5 separate regions of the Homo sapiens genome follow, and all the other regions are linked to region 2. The links are contacts of gene promoters, found by promoter capture Hi-C in blood cells and fetal thymus (Javierre and others, 2016). All regions are on one chromosome and are shown on one strand. The core of a region is centred on a gene start or on the middle of the fragment in contact, and the rest is flanking DNA. Distances in the headings are between cores, read along the strand shown.

Region 1 (2,700 bases), core at 74-2,573, 270 kb after region 2:
AAACTAGAAGAGGAGAAAAGGTGCTATGTTGTTTCAAGCCTGGGATTTCTGGTGGCCACATCATTCAGTATTAAGGCCCTATGTGTTTTGGGAAGTTCTAACTACTTCTGTTTGGTTTTTAAAATCTTTTGTTATTGTTGGTTAACACCTACCTTTCTGTTAAGACTCAGGAGTAGAGACTTCCTTAAAAACGCGTGTCTTCATGGTAATTACCAGCCTTTTAAGCTCCCAGGAAATTGATGCTGTGTTTATATTCCCAGGAGTTTCTGTTGGGCAGGAAAGTTTGGTGTATTTTATAGGGGAGTGTGTGTTTCAAATGAAATAAGAGTTTGATGATATTTAAATTTTAATTCAGATTTGACAGTTTAGATTTTGATTTATCTTAGATGTCAATACCGAAGCCATCTATTATAGCTGCAAACTTAGCTTTTTTTTTAAGCTGAAAAGAACCAAACATTTTAAAAAACAGGTGGAGAAACTTTTTTAAGGTGAGGAGAACCAAAAATTGAAGAAAGAGGTCCTCTGTTAGTTTTCTGATCTAGGGGGCTGGGGAGTGTGATCTCAGGGGCTGGAGTCGGCCATGGGCGCCTGAGCTCTTGGAGCCCACGGCTGGAGGTGAACGAGGTCCAGCGTGGAGCAGCAAATATGAAACCAGTGGCTTCCGACATTTTAAGTCAGGAAACTATTTCTTTAAACAAAACCTTGCCCAGGAGCCCAAAAAGTAAAAATAAAAAACTGGAGAGAAAAGAGCCAAAGAAATGGGAGTCACGGGCACCCTGACAAAACTCCTGGAGCTCCTCAGAGCACTATTTTAGGGGGGAAAACCTGCCATAAAGGTTTGCTCTGTTACATTGTGAAAGAGAGGGAAAGGAGAGCACAGAGAGATGACAGAAGAGAAGAGAATGAGAGAAAAGAGCATAGAACTTGGAAATGGTCATGAGGACAAGGTGACCCCGAGGGGGTGGCTGTGGGAAAGGGGATGCGGAGGTGCAGGAAGCACCGGTAGAGGGGCTGAGTGTCCTTATCTAGCTTAAAGCCCTGAGCACAGGGCTGCATGGGAGCAGGTCCATCAGCTGCTGCGTATTGAGCACGGCACATGTGCCTCTCTGTCCTTAATGTTATTTTGTCCTCACAGTAACCCTGGGGGCTGCAGCAGAAGACACTGTAATGTGGAGAAGTTAAGTTTCTTCCGGTGTCTCAGAGTTACTGAGTATCAAGTGGTGGGGCTGGAACCCGGAGTCTAACTCTAGACCACTGTGGTGCAGTGATGTTCATAACAGCTATCCACAGTCACCGAGCTGGGAATTTATTGGTTCTGCATTACTTAATAAAACAAAAAGACGCATGACTGACCTGATTTAGAACTCTTTGCATGAGAGACATGTGCTGTGAAGAATCATCTTACCGTTTCGGAGCTGGACGGTGCCTTAGAATCATCTAGGCCGATGTCTTTACCTTCAGGCCCCTGCAGCCCTCAGGAGGGGTTTTGCTCTATCTGCAGCACTACCTGTGCTTTTCTGTACATGAAGCTGCAGCCCTGGGTTCTCCTGTCCCCACTGCTACCAGGAGTGTGTGTTCTTGAGCAAGCCCCCCTGCCTCTCTGGGTCTTCGTGTTCTTATTGGAAAAGTGAGGGGAGTGCATGTCATTTTGGGTGAAGTGGTTTGACTTATGTCACCATCAACCAAATAACGCGATGGGAGGAAGGTCCAGGATATAGTGGAGATGGAACGTCTTCTGAAAAATCCCCTTGGTGCTGGGATATTGAATGTGCTGCTTACTTGAAATGTCTTGGTAATTTAAAATGATATTATTTGCATTATCTTGAATTGAGACCTTTAGATTAGTAAACAGTCACTTTATTTGAGGCTTTGTTCCTGATATCTAAAACACATACAATTAAATGCTACCATTTAAAAGGGACAGTTTAGAAGAGTGTCCAGTCACTATTGGGGTTAATCTTGGAGAACAGTGTGGATCCTAAACAATTTCAGTTTTAAGGTTTTTTTCTTCTCTTCCGTGTTATTATTTTCTCCCCCAGCCCTGCTGTGAAATGATGGAAATGCATTGGGCTCTGATAGAAAGGAAGTATTTTTAGTGAGTCACATTGGGACATCAGTGACCTCAGTCATTCTTTCTTTTTTTCTTTTAAAACCCGCTCCCAGCACTGAACCCCAGTCATTCTTAATGAAGGTGACTGCATATATCTTGTTCCATTAATGCATGTTGTATTTTTAAAATAGAGCCGATCCCAGTTTCTGATCTCCGTGTTGCCCTCACGGGTGTGAGGAAGGCTGCTCTCTCCTGGAGCAATGGCAATGGCACTGCCTCCTGCCGGGTTCTTCTTGAAAGCATTGGAAGCCATGAGGAGTTGACTCAAGACTCAAGACTTCAGGTCAATATCTCGGGCCTGAAGCCAGGGGTTCAATACAACATCAACCCGTATCTTCTACAATCAAATAAGACAAAGGGAGACCCCTTGGGCACAGAAGGTGGCTTGGGTGAGTTACAAAGGGTACCTTCCGTCTCCCTTACTGGTTCTTACTTTCAGTAACTAAATGTTCTAAAAAATAAATTGCTCTTCCATGTGTATGGAGATTTAGAATTTATAAAGGGCTTTTCCTCCACATTTTAGTTTGATCCCCCACCTGCATGAGGAAGGAAGGAAACGTGTTCTGATTTTACAGGGGAACACATTGGGG
Region 2 (2,700 bases), core at 143-2,642:
TGCAATTTTGATGTTAGTAACTCTTTAAAAATCTTTCAATTATTACTCAATGTACTTAGGATAAAATCCAAAAATCCTTAAAAATGGCCTAAGGGTCCCTCATGGTCCGAGTCCTGCCTACCTCTCCAGCCTCAGTATCTCACATCACTTTCTGTTTTACCCACTGCACTTAAGCCACACAGATCTTTGGTCAGTTCCAAACCCGCCACATTCTTTCCACTTCATGACCTTTGCATATGGTGATCCTACTTGCTGGACTCCTCTCTGTCCACTCCCCATGCCTGGCTAACCTCGTGTCCTTTAGATCTCAGGGTAACTGTGAATTCCTTAAAGCCTTTCCCTGCCCCACTAATTATATTTGGTCCTCTTATTAGCCTCTCATAACCCGTATATTTTTCCTCTAGGGCAAGTTTTCCTCCAAAAAATTTCCCCATGAAAAGTGGGTCTACATCTATTCTGACATTGCTACAACGTCTTGCATGATGAAAATTGCAGTTTTGTTCATTTCGTCCTGGTACCTAGCACAATGCCTGACATATTGAAGCTCGAACGTATTTGTACAATGAAGGAAGCTGTAAAGCACTATAAAAACATAACGGGTTCATGTTTAAAATTGGTCTTATGGGCTTTATTCCCCTAAGCTACATTTCCTCTGCTTCTGGTGTTGCTTGGTGTATGTGTGTGTGGGGGTGGGGGGGGGGAGGGGGAGAGGTATCTCTTCTAGAACTCTGTGTCTCAGTTTTCCCGATTCTGATACGAACTGAAAAAACAATCTTTCTCTTTCCCTAAGTGTCAATTACCGCTTCTAGAATAGCACTTTGGGTACAGCGACGAAAATTTATACACCAAACCCTACCTTCCAGGGGAGTTTGGCGAACCACAACACTTACCAATGAATGAACCTGTTTCTGGTTACGGAGAACAACTTGCCACTCTCCACGTAGTAAAAGCCTCCCGCGCTTTCACTGTATTTTACGGCGCCAGCCACGGCATTTGCAGTCCCTGCAAAATGAACGTGGTCAGCCTGCACACGCGTCTTCTGAGAAATGACAGGGACTAAGGGAGCTGACAAAGCAGAGAGTGACAGACTGACAACCCATACAAAGAAAAGAGGAAAACGTCGGACATCAAGGAATCTCTGATCCCGGGGCTAGAGGCATGTGGACTCAGGAGGATGAAACAGGGCGTCAGGGACCCTGGGACCCATGAGAGGAGCCCGAGGGGACAGATGGGATCGCACCCTCCCTGGCCATTTCCGTACCAATGCTGCAGACTGTGAATTCCCGAAAGTGCCTCGGCCTTTCGCGCTCAGCTCCGCTTAGCTCCACGAAGCTCCGTTCCAGGGCTCCCGCCGCCGCCATCTTCCCGCCGTCGCCGCGACGCCCAACGGAACAAAGGCAGGGCCGCGCGGTCGCCGTCACTTCCGGGGGTGGGGCGGGCGGAGCTGCGGACAGGTGAAGCATTCCGGGAGCAGAAAGGCGGCTCCGGCCCTTCGTTGCGAGGCTTCCACCGGGAGAATGAGGGTGGGCAGCGAGGAATCCAGAAGAGAAGGGGGCAGGGGAGGCAGACTCTATCTGCGGGAACCTTCCAGTGGCCGGCTGGAACGCCTCCGGAGGGCGGTGCTCTTTTCTCAGCGGCCGCAGGGCAGGGGGCGGGGCCGGGTTTGTTTCTGTTTCTAAAACGCGGGGCTCAGTCGACCAGGAGGGGCGAGGTCCGGGGAGTCCCGGCCTTTCGGCGTCCTCTGCCGGATCCCGGGTTTATGGTCACCTCTCCCTCGGTTAGGGTGTCCGTCTGTAAATCTTTGGCGATCCTCCCTTCGCTCTTCAGTGGCGACACTTGGGATGGCGGGGTGAGGAAGGGGTAGTGAGGGAAAGGCCTTTGGTTTTGGTCTTTCCCCTCCCCAAGAGACTGTATTCGTGTATTCCTGTATAATGAAACGTAATGTGGTAAACCTTGGTGCTGCCACTTGCTGAGGTTACCTGAGTGCTACTCACTTGGATACGTGAAAGGAATTTGCCATTCCTTCCACCCGTGATCTTGCACTTGGCTGTCAATGCAGTAAGGGCCCATAGTGGGTGTTTAGAAGATATTGTGGGAGTAGATGTTCAAAATCGAGGAAAATGCTAATCTCCAGCGGGGAAGGTTTTGTTCCTTAGTGATAGCCAATAGAAGTTAAAGCACTTCTATTACCAGTGACCACAACCATTCCCTGTCATTCTCCGTTTCATTTATCTGGTTCCGACCATCATTTTCTATCTTTCCACTTCACTCCCTCTGGGACACCAACTTTGGCAGTGCAGTCCCCTCATTCTACCTGGAATCCATTGTTCTACAAAATCTTCACTGTCCCACACTTCTTTGGTGTTTCTTTCTTATCCTGAATACCATTAAATTACTTCATTGCCTAACTCTTCATCGGTAAAAACTACAACTTCGACTACATTCAAATCTGTAGCTGAACATGACTGGAGAAAACTATACACCCGGGTCGGGCGTGGCTCCCAGCATTTTGGGAGGCCAAGGCGTGAGGATCACTTGAGGTCAGGAGTCCGAGACCAGCCTGGCCAACATGGTGAAACCCGGTCTCTACCAAAAATAGAAAAATTAGCCGGGCGCGGTGGCTCACGCCTGTAATCCCAGCGCTCTGGGAGGCAGAGGTGGGTGGATCACGAGGTAAGGAGTTTCAGACCAACCTGGCCA
Region 3 (2,700 bases), core at 145-2,644, 300 kb after region 2:
ATGAGCATGGGATGTCTTTGCATGTATTTGTGTATTTGTATCTTCTTTATTTTATCGATGTTTTGTGGTTTTCACTCTACAAGTCTTTCATCTCCTTGATTGTATTCTAATTATATTTCAATCAATCTGTTAAAAAATAAAATAAAAGCATGTACTGTTCAAAACAACAATAGCAAAACCAAACAAGGCTGCTGGGTGCCTGCCCTGGGGATTTGGCTGGATGCCCTGAAGGGGTCATTGTGAGCTAGGTGGGTTTCCCAGGATCTGCTGTCTCTGCTCCTCACCAGTTTCCTTCCCTGCCTTTTGCTTCTGGATTTGCTGTTTTGCACGAGCCCAGCATGTAGCTTCCAGAGTAAGATCTTGAGGAGGTTGCTGAAGCATGTTCTCTACCTAATGTGTTGCTTTGGTTTTCAATATTGGGTGATCATGTTTTGTTTTGTTTTGTTTTAGATCCCCCTCCTCCAGATGGATCCCCTAATATTACATCTGTCAGTCACAATTCAGTAAAGGTCAAGTTCAGTGGATTTGAAGCCAGCCACGGACCCATCAAAGCCTATGCTGTCATTCTCACCACCGGGGAAGGTAAGGAGAGGCCTCCGTGGGTTAAACAGCCCATGAGTGATGCAGTGACCAGAGCTTTCTCTGTGCCCACTGAGGCATGTGAGTAATGCAGACACACGCCTGTCTTCTCACTGCAGCCTATGCTGTGTACTCAGACAGAGAAGGAGGGTGAGGTATTTGCCTGATGGTTGACAAACTTTCTGGAAAGGGCCAGATTGCCAATATTTTAAGCTTTGCAGGTGGTATAGAGTCTGTTGCAAGCATTCGACTCTGCCATTGTAGTGTGCAAGCAGTCACAGAAGATACAGAAGGAATGAGTGGGACCATTCCCACTAGATGTTATTTACCATGGCAGGTGGATTTGGTTTGTGGCCCATAACTTGCTGATCTGTGATCTAGGTTTTTCTTCTCTTTTACCTCACTGGGCCTTTTAGGTGGTAGAATATTAGTTTTAACCAACTCTGTCTCTCTCTCTCACTCTACACACGTACACACATGCCATCCTCAGAGGATGACTTTCCTTTGAAAGAAAATAGAAAAAGATTTGCATTTGCTAGTGGGAATTTGCAGAGTATCTCCTTAGCTGAGAGAAGAGGTGGATTAAAAGCTGCTTTTCCTTAAAGGGCTCTGTTACATTCTTTTGTGGTAGGAAAGGAATCATTCGAGAGTCTCTTCGGTAGCTGTGTTTGAGTGCTTGCATAAGGCCTAGATTTAAAAGCCCAAGTTTTGTTGTGGGGGTTCCCTCCTCCCCCTCCCCTCCTCCCCCTCCCCTCTCCTCCTCCTCCCCTTCTCCTCCCCCTCCCCTCTCCTCCTCCTCCCCTTCTCCCCTTCTCCCCTTCTCCTTCCCTTCCCCTTCCCTCTTTCTTTCTTTTAGAGACAAGATCTCACCATGTTGCCCAGGCTGGTCTTGAACTCCTGGACTCAAGTAATCCTCCCACCTTGGCCTTCCAAAGTGCTGGGACTAGACTACAGGCATGAGCCTCTGTGCCTGGTCTGGGAGATTCTTTATGCATGAATAATGCAGTGTTTCCTCTGCCCACTCTCTCCTACTGTGGTGCTGTCCTCATGTCCTTGAGGAGGATAGAGACCAAACACACTGTCGGGGTTAGGGATCTGGGAGGATAGAAATTTGCTGGTGCCATAACCTGTGGCAAAATTTCAAAAAGTGAGGTTGAAATCTCTATCTTTTAATTTTGGGTCTGTTTCCAGCTCTTAGTCATTTTGCTGTGATGCTTGTCAGCAAGTCCCATTGAGGAAGGCCATGTTGCATAGCAGCCAGACTGACCAGTGCTGGCCTGTGATTAGATGAAACCTTGGGCTCTGAGCCCGATGCCCTGGATTGGGAACCCAACTCTACCTCATAGGCAGTGTGACCTTGTGCCTGGTCCTGTTAGCCTTTTGTACCTTCGTTTTCTTGTCTGTAAAATGGAGACAATAAGCTTATGTGATGGGATTCATGGGGATGAAGTGAGTTACTGTAGGTGAAACCCTTAGAATTCAATGTAAGTCAAACCTGGCACAGAGAGATACTTGAGAGATGGTTGCTGATCACTATCACCCAACATCACCACCATGTAGATATGCAGGAGAAGAAATCTCTCTGCCATCACTTTCTTATGATTCTCCTTCTGTGTACCTTTCTTAGCTGGTCACCCTTCTGCAGATGTCCTGAAATACACGTATGAGGATTTCAAAAAGGGAGCCTCAGATACTTATGTGACATACCTCATAAGAACAGAAGAAAAGGGACGTTCTCAGAGCTTGTCTGAAGTTTTGAAATATGAAATTGACGTTGGGAATGAGTCAACCACACTTGGTTATTACAATGGGAAGCTGGAACCTCTGGGCTCCTACCGGTAATGTCTTCTGGTTCTTACTCTTTGGGGGCTGAGCCTCATGAGCATAAAGCTCTACATGCCTGCGGTCAGACACGTCTCAGGGACCTCTTTTTGCTCTTTGTTATCCCACAGGGCTTGTGTGGCTGGCTTCACCAACATTACCTTCCACCCTCAAAACAAGGGGCTCATTGATGGGGCTGAGAGCTATGTGTCCTTCAGTCGCTACTCAGATGCTGTTTCCTTGCCCCAGGATCCAGGTAGGGAGAAGACAACAGTCCTGGCACTGGTTCAGTGGCATTTT
Region 4 (2,700 bases), core at 28-2,527, 260 kb after region 2:
TATTGTTACCCATTGTGCTATTCAGTCACTTATTACCCATCCTTAAAAGCCCAACGTGGATAACAGAAAACCTGGAGAGCTTTGTCACTTGCTGAAATCCAAGCTGCCCTGTGAATTTATCCCCAAACACTGCTCCTTTTGAGAAACTTGTACAAGCTGCCTTAATTTAGTCAATTCAAATGGGTTGATGGGGGCTGTTCCCAAGGCCCAGGACAGGCAGGGGTTTGTGACCTGCAGCCCTGGAACTGCCTTTGGGTTTCATGGTCTCAGTTGAGACCTGCCCAGGGTTGAACCAGCTTAGTGCTCCCTGGGGGTGGTTAAGTTCAAGGACTTCAGGGTCCGATTGACCTTGGGCTGAATCTTGACCTGGGGCTGTAAGATGCTCGGTCAGGACCTTAACTTTTCCAAGGCTCGGTGTCTACATCTGGAAAATGGGGATAAACACAGTTCCTCCCTGCTGGGATTATTGTAAGGCTTGAATGAGATGATAAATACAACATCTGACTTGCGACTGGACGGTAGCAAAGGGTTTAGTTAATATTATAATAAGTAGAATGGAACAGCATTAGATTCTCACACAGGGTCACTATGTTGTTTTCTCCCATTCTACCCCTGCATATTACCCTGAAGCACCCCCAAGCCTCTCCCTCCCCATCCCTCAAGCCCCTCCCTCCCCATCCCCCAAGCTCACCAGGTCCTGGCGCACCCAGATCTTTCACTGCTTTTCTTGCCTGTGAGCTCTTGGGGAGTCAGGACCACCTTAAGCACCCTCTGCATCTTTGGCACCTAACCTGGGGCCTGGGGCCCTGCAGGGCCACAATTAGCAGCATGGACAACAGCATGGACGGAGAGGGTCTCAGAGCCTGGAGAGCTCCTAGGGGCTGGAGCAGTCACAGGAAGTCACCAAGTGAATTGAAGGGTGGTGGCTTTGGAGGTTCAGTGAGGCAAGAAGAAGGCTGTTAGGCTGGGAATTAAGGAACCTTGTGTTGTTCGAGTCTCAGGACAACTCAGATATGGGGTCTGTATTGCAAATGCCCCTGCGTCATTTTACAACTGATGAAAACAATGGCTCCACGAGACCCTCAAGTGCCAGAGCTCATGAGTGACAGTGGAAGTTGAACTAACCTTTTAACCACCCTAGTCCACACCTGTCAGGCTGACGGGCTTTCAGTGGTGATGTGTTGGGAGCTCTGTGCCGCAGATCTCTGTGTGCTCCTGAGACTCTGCCCGCCTGTCTCTACCCTGCTGTGCCCACTAGGAGGAGGCTGACCTTTATGTTCTACACCAGTGGGTGCCCTTGGTCTCCAGCTTCCAGTGGGCCAGTCTGGCGAGAGACCCTAGCTGGAGATGAGGGGAGGTAGCCTTGGCCTCTCTCCTTGCCCTTCCTCGCTGCTGCTACCCCAGGATTCTTGCCCATCCCTTACTGGTTTTCCTTAACCCCACCCTCACCCTTGAAAACAGACTCTTTAAAACTCTCCTCACTCACCCTCATTGAGTGTGTCATCTGCTCCAGCTAGGATATTGGCTAATACCGCATGTTTCAGAAAGAAAAATTCGCAGTTCTATTTATTTTTTTACTGTGGATTGAAGGGAGAGGCAACCAGGTATATGGATGAAGGAGTAGGGCCTGGCTGTCACCACTGGTGTTCACAAAAGGCTCCCGTTTAAGTCCTCTTATATTCCAAATGAGGGGTTATAGGTCGAGTCAGGGCGTTGCTCTAACAGAAGCAAAACCAAAAATACACGGCCGTAGATACAACCCTGTTCTGGTACTTCCTAATTTTGTGTGTACATGTGTGCACCTGGAGCTTCAAGAAATGAAAATGGAAATGGCCTGAGTGTTTCTCAGCCCTAGGATGAGGCTGTTTCTGTGATTTAGGGCTGGAGGTTATGAAGACTTGGTTTACAATATGCACAGTACAGAAGCGGGGAAGTCAAGGTGTGCTGGGCAAGGAAACATCTTTATGTGACCCACAAAGAGTGAAGCAGAGGGAAGAACCAGAAGTTATTCTGGTTTGCAGACTGGGAGACAGGTTTAATGACACAGTCATGTCAGAGAGAGGGGAAGAGGAGAATACGTAGGGGGTCTGTTTTGATGTGTATGTACATGTAGGATTTTCATGTAGAGGAGTTGGGGAAAATTTTAGAAGTTTTAGGTGTAAATGCAGCTGGTAAGATCCTTATGACTTAGTTTCTTTTTTTTCTTCTTTTCTTTTCTTTCTTTCTTTCTTTTTTTTTTTTTTTTTTTTTTTAAGACAGAGTCTCACTCTGTTGCCCAGGCTGGAGTGCAGTGGCGCGATCTCAGCTCACTGCAACCTCCGTCTCCCCAGTTCAAGCAATTCTCCTGCCTCAGCCTCCCAGAGTGCTGGGATTACAGGTGCATGCAACCACACCTGGCTAATTTTTGTATTTTTAGTAGAGTTGGGGTTTCACCATGTTGGCCAGGCTGGTCTGGAACTCCTGACCTCAGGTGATCCACCTGCCTTGGCCTCACAAAGTGCTGGGATTACAAGTGTGAGCCACTGCTCCCGGCCTTAGTTTTTGAGTGGGAAGAATCTAGTGTTCAGAGTGGACCACTGATGTCATAGCTGCAGGTTTGGCTGAATTGGGATGGTGCAGAAAGCCGTGTTAACCATTTCTTTTTCTCTGAGGCCTGGAGGAGGATCCTTGTGACTGGAACCACAGTTGGGACTGGCAGTG
Region 5 (2,700 bases), core at 1-2,500, 270 kb before region 2:
ACTCGCTGACATCCTGCAGCACAATCACCCGGTTGTGGGCCTCCTTCAGGTTGGAAGTGAACATGGATCGGAAGAAGCAGCTCTGAGCTGAGAGGACCAGCCGATGGAGCTGAAACTCCCGGCCTTCCACCGAAATGGTGACATCAGCAAAGAGCTCCTCCTCTAGACACAGTTTCATGATGCCTTGAGCCACACGGCCTGAATGTGACCGATCTTTGAAAGTGTAGTTCACAAAGTAGTTCTCATCCATGGATGCTCCAGGCTCCTCTGGTGATTCCATGCTAGCCAACTTCTCTCTCTGCCAGCTGTCTGCAAAGCAACACCATCTTGAGTAACCTGAGGAATTCACAGCCATAGTCTGTGAATCCAACTGTCCAACTCAGGGAGGGAAAAGGAAGAAGTGAGAGCAAAGTGGGTCCAGATTGGCCTTAGTCCTGGCCCTGTCCATGATGTCCCTGACGCTATCCTTTAACCAAATCTGGGTTCGTTATCCCCAGTGGCGCCCCTCCGCTAATGATATAAATAAAAGTTCCAACTCTGGGTGTTTTCCTGAGAAAACACGGAATAATTCCTTTCCATAATGTTAACAAAAGACTTGGGATTTAGGTCAATATATGAAAGCAAAGGGCTGGGAGAGGCCTGTGATCGTAAAAGCCTTACTAACCAAATAACTGGGGCATAAAACTAGTGAAGCTCAGGGGCAGTAGAATCAGACAAAAAGGACCCCTGGCCCCGGCCTAGTGGCCAGGTCCTCTCCTTCCCAGCGCATGGAGTTAAGACGCTCCATATGAAGCCTAGCCTGGGATATCCGTGGGTCTTACATTTGCTCTCTTCTGAGCTGCTTCCCCCACACTTCCCCGCTCGCTCGAAAGACTCCCTATGGCTGCGTCCCAGAACTTGAGTCCATCCGCCCCCAGGCCGGGGCACTGGGAGGCCCATCACCCTGTGCAATGTCCCCGCTCCACCTTGAGTCGTCTTGGAAACGGTCGCCAGGGAAACCGTTCTTCCCGCTCAGGCCCGCCCGCCCTCGTCAAAAGCTTGGCTCAGAGAGCGGGGGAGGGGTGTGTAGCGTAGAACCCAAAACGCCCGCCCCCTCCCCTCCTCTCACCCGCCTGGTTCTTCAGCGTCCTCGCCTTCTCTCTAGGCTCTGCCACAAGGAGCTAGGACCACGCTCACCTCACGATTTCCCTACCTGCCTGTCTCGCTTTCTCACCTGCGTTCCCTCCTTTCATCCCGGAGCCCGGAACCTCCGCTTCCGGCTCCACGTCCGCCCGGAAGAAGATCTGCTGCACACTTCCGTTTCCGGTCCGTGCCCTTGGGGCTCCGTGTCCTGCTGTCTTTCCGTCCGCTGCCTAGTCTGCATCTGAGTAACATGGCGGCGGCGGCGGTAGCCAGGCTGTGGTGGCGCGGGATCTTGGGGGCCTCGGCGCTGACCAGGGGTGAGCACGGGCAGCCAGCTGAGACCGGGGTCAGGCGCAGCGGCGTGCCCAGTGCAGAGAGCTCCTCAGGGCTCATCCCGCGCGTCTGTGCCTTTTATCTCCCTGTGCAGGGACTGGGCGACCCTCCGTTCTGTTGCTGCCGGTGAGGCGGGAGAGCGCCGGGGCCGACACGCGCCGTGAGTATGTGCGGGCAGCGCTCTTCTCTGAACTATCGGCGGGGCCCCTTAGATGCCTGTCCTTGCCCTAGGATGCCCTTCCCTACGTCCTCCTGGCAAATCTTGGAGATCTGACTTGCAGTGGTCTTCACCCTGCATGCAGAATCGAGCCCTCCCTGTGCCCTTAGGCCTGTTATGGCCCTGATTGTTCCTTGTCCATTTCAATCATCCCCTTTTTGTCTGATTAAACTGTCAGCTCTTTGAAAGCAAGCAATATAACCTTTAGGCCTCAGAGCCCTGTAATAATAGTACCTAGCGTTAATTGAGTGCTTAATGTGTGCCTGGAACCTCGCTAAGCGTTTTAGTGAATGATCTTATTTCGTCCTCACAACAGCCTTATGGGGTAGATAGCATCTTACTCTTCTTACTATAGATCAGGAAACAGTCCAAAGAATTAAACTGCCCAGGGTCAAAGACCTAGTGAATGACAAAGTAGGCCTGCCTGCTGCCAGAGGCAGAAACACCTAACCATTATTCTGTAGCTTGTGATGTGTGATTGCTCAGTGGTTTAGGGTTGCATGAATGAGTATGTACATATTATGTTACAGTCAAGATACACGGACTGGGAGTTAGGAGACCTGGCATTTCTCCTTTCCTGGGTTTTCTCATTGACACACACACACACACACACACACACACACACACACACACACACACCTGGGCCTCAGTTTTCTCATTGACACACACACACACACACACTTTTAAGGAGAGAGAGAGTCTGTGAGGGATCTTCAAGCCCTGAAGTTCTTAGCTTGAGAACCTGGTATAAACTTGCGTGCTAAGGAGCTACAGAGAGGCAAAAGTTCAGTTCCCATCCTCAAACAGCTCTTAGTCTGACAGGAGAACTGAGACTACTGCTTTAGCAGAAATGCAGGCAATGTGAGGGAAGAACTGTGGAGTAATTTTGAGAAGAGGTGAACACCCCAGCTGCTATAGTAAGAGTCTTTCTGAGGACCGTGTAGTTAAGGTGGCACTTTCCCCAAGTTTTCATCACTGTATTCCCTAGAAGGGAAACCTTTCACATGCACCTTTCTCAAGGTGCTTCA

The links. The method cuts DNA at HindIII sites, captures the fragments that hold promoters and counts their contacts. A CHiCAGO score of 5 or more calls a contact.
Region 1: a fragment that was not itself captured here is called in contact with the fragment with the promoter of NUP160 in region 2 in 3 of 17 cell types (naive B cells, total B cells and activated CD4 T cells); the score reaches 10.2 in naive B cells.
Region 3: a fragment that was not itself captured here is called in contact with the fragment with the promoter of NUP160 in region 2 in 3 of 17 cell types (naive B cells, total B cells and neutrophils); the score reaches 7.5 in naive B cells.
Region 4: a contact is called between a fragment that was not itself captured here and the fragment with the promoter of NUP160 in region 2, in 14 of 17 cell types (total B cells, naive B cells, neutrophils and 11 more). The highest score is 24.9, in total B cells.
Region 5: the fragment with the promoter of KBTBD4 here is called in contact with the fragment with the promoter of NUP160 in region 2 in 2 of 17 cell types (M1 macrophages and M2 macrophages); the score reaches 6.6 in M1 macrophages.

What each region holds. Positions count from the first base shown.
Region 1 is chr11:48,121,372-48,124,071 of GRCh38, forward strand. It overlaps PTPRJ (protein tyrosine phosphatase receptor type J), which reads left to right. Exons shown (of 25, transcript NM_002843.4): 5 at 2,242-2,499. Among named protein-coding and RNA genes, the nearest start is that of MIR3161, 26 kb to the left of the region's middle. The HindIII fragment of the contact is 6,799 bases long and covers 1-2,700 here.
Region 2 is chr11:47,846,958-47,849,657 of GRCh38, forward strand. NUP160 (nucleoporin 160) reads right to left here and starts at 1,393. Exons shown (of 36, transcript NM_015231.3): 1 at 1,262-1,393; 2 at 891-1,002. The coding sequence starts at 1,361. RefSeq lists an enhancer at 1,331-1,890. The HindIII fragment of the contact is 7,211 bases long and covers 1-2,700 here.
Region 3 is chr11:48,142,469-48,145,168 of GRCh38, forward strand. PTPRJ (protein tyrosine phosphatase receptor type J) reads left to right here. Exons shown (of 25, transcript NM_002843.4): 12 at 451-582; 13 at 2,207-2,417; 14 at 2,532-2,656. Among named protein-coding and RNA genes, the nearest start is that of MIR3161, 47 kb to the left of the region's middle. The HindIII fragment of the contact is 1,208 bases long and covers 791-1,998 here.
Region 4 is chr11:48,104,535-48,107,234 of GRCh38, forward strand. The region is part of intron 1 of PTPRJ (protein tyrosine phosphatase receptor type J); the gene reads left to right. Among named protein-coding and RNA genes, the nearest start is that of MIR3161, 9.1 kb to the left of the region's middle. The HindIII fragment of the contact is 3,181 bases long and covers 1-2,700 here.
Region 5 is chr11:47,577,720-47,580,419 of GRCh38, forward strand. It overlaps KBTBD4 (kelch repeat and BTB domain containing 4), which reads right to left and starts at 1,251. Exons shown (of 4, transcript NM_018095.6): 1 at 1,214-1,251; 2 at 1-309. The coding sequence starts at 1,232. It overlaps NDUFS3 (NADH:ubiquinone oxidoreductase core subunit S3), which reads left to right and starts at 1,355. Exons shown (of 7, transcript NM_004551.3): 1 at 1,355-1,439; 2 at 1,550-1,615. The coding sequence starts at 1,373. RefSeq lists enhancers at 810-1,469, 1,162-1,401, 1,470-2,128. The HindIII fragment of the contact is 1,977 bases long and covers 1,036-2,700 here.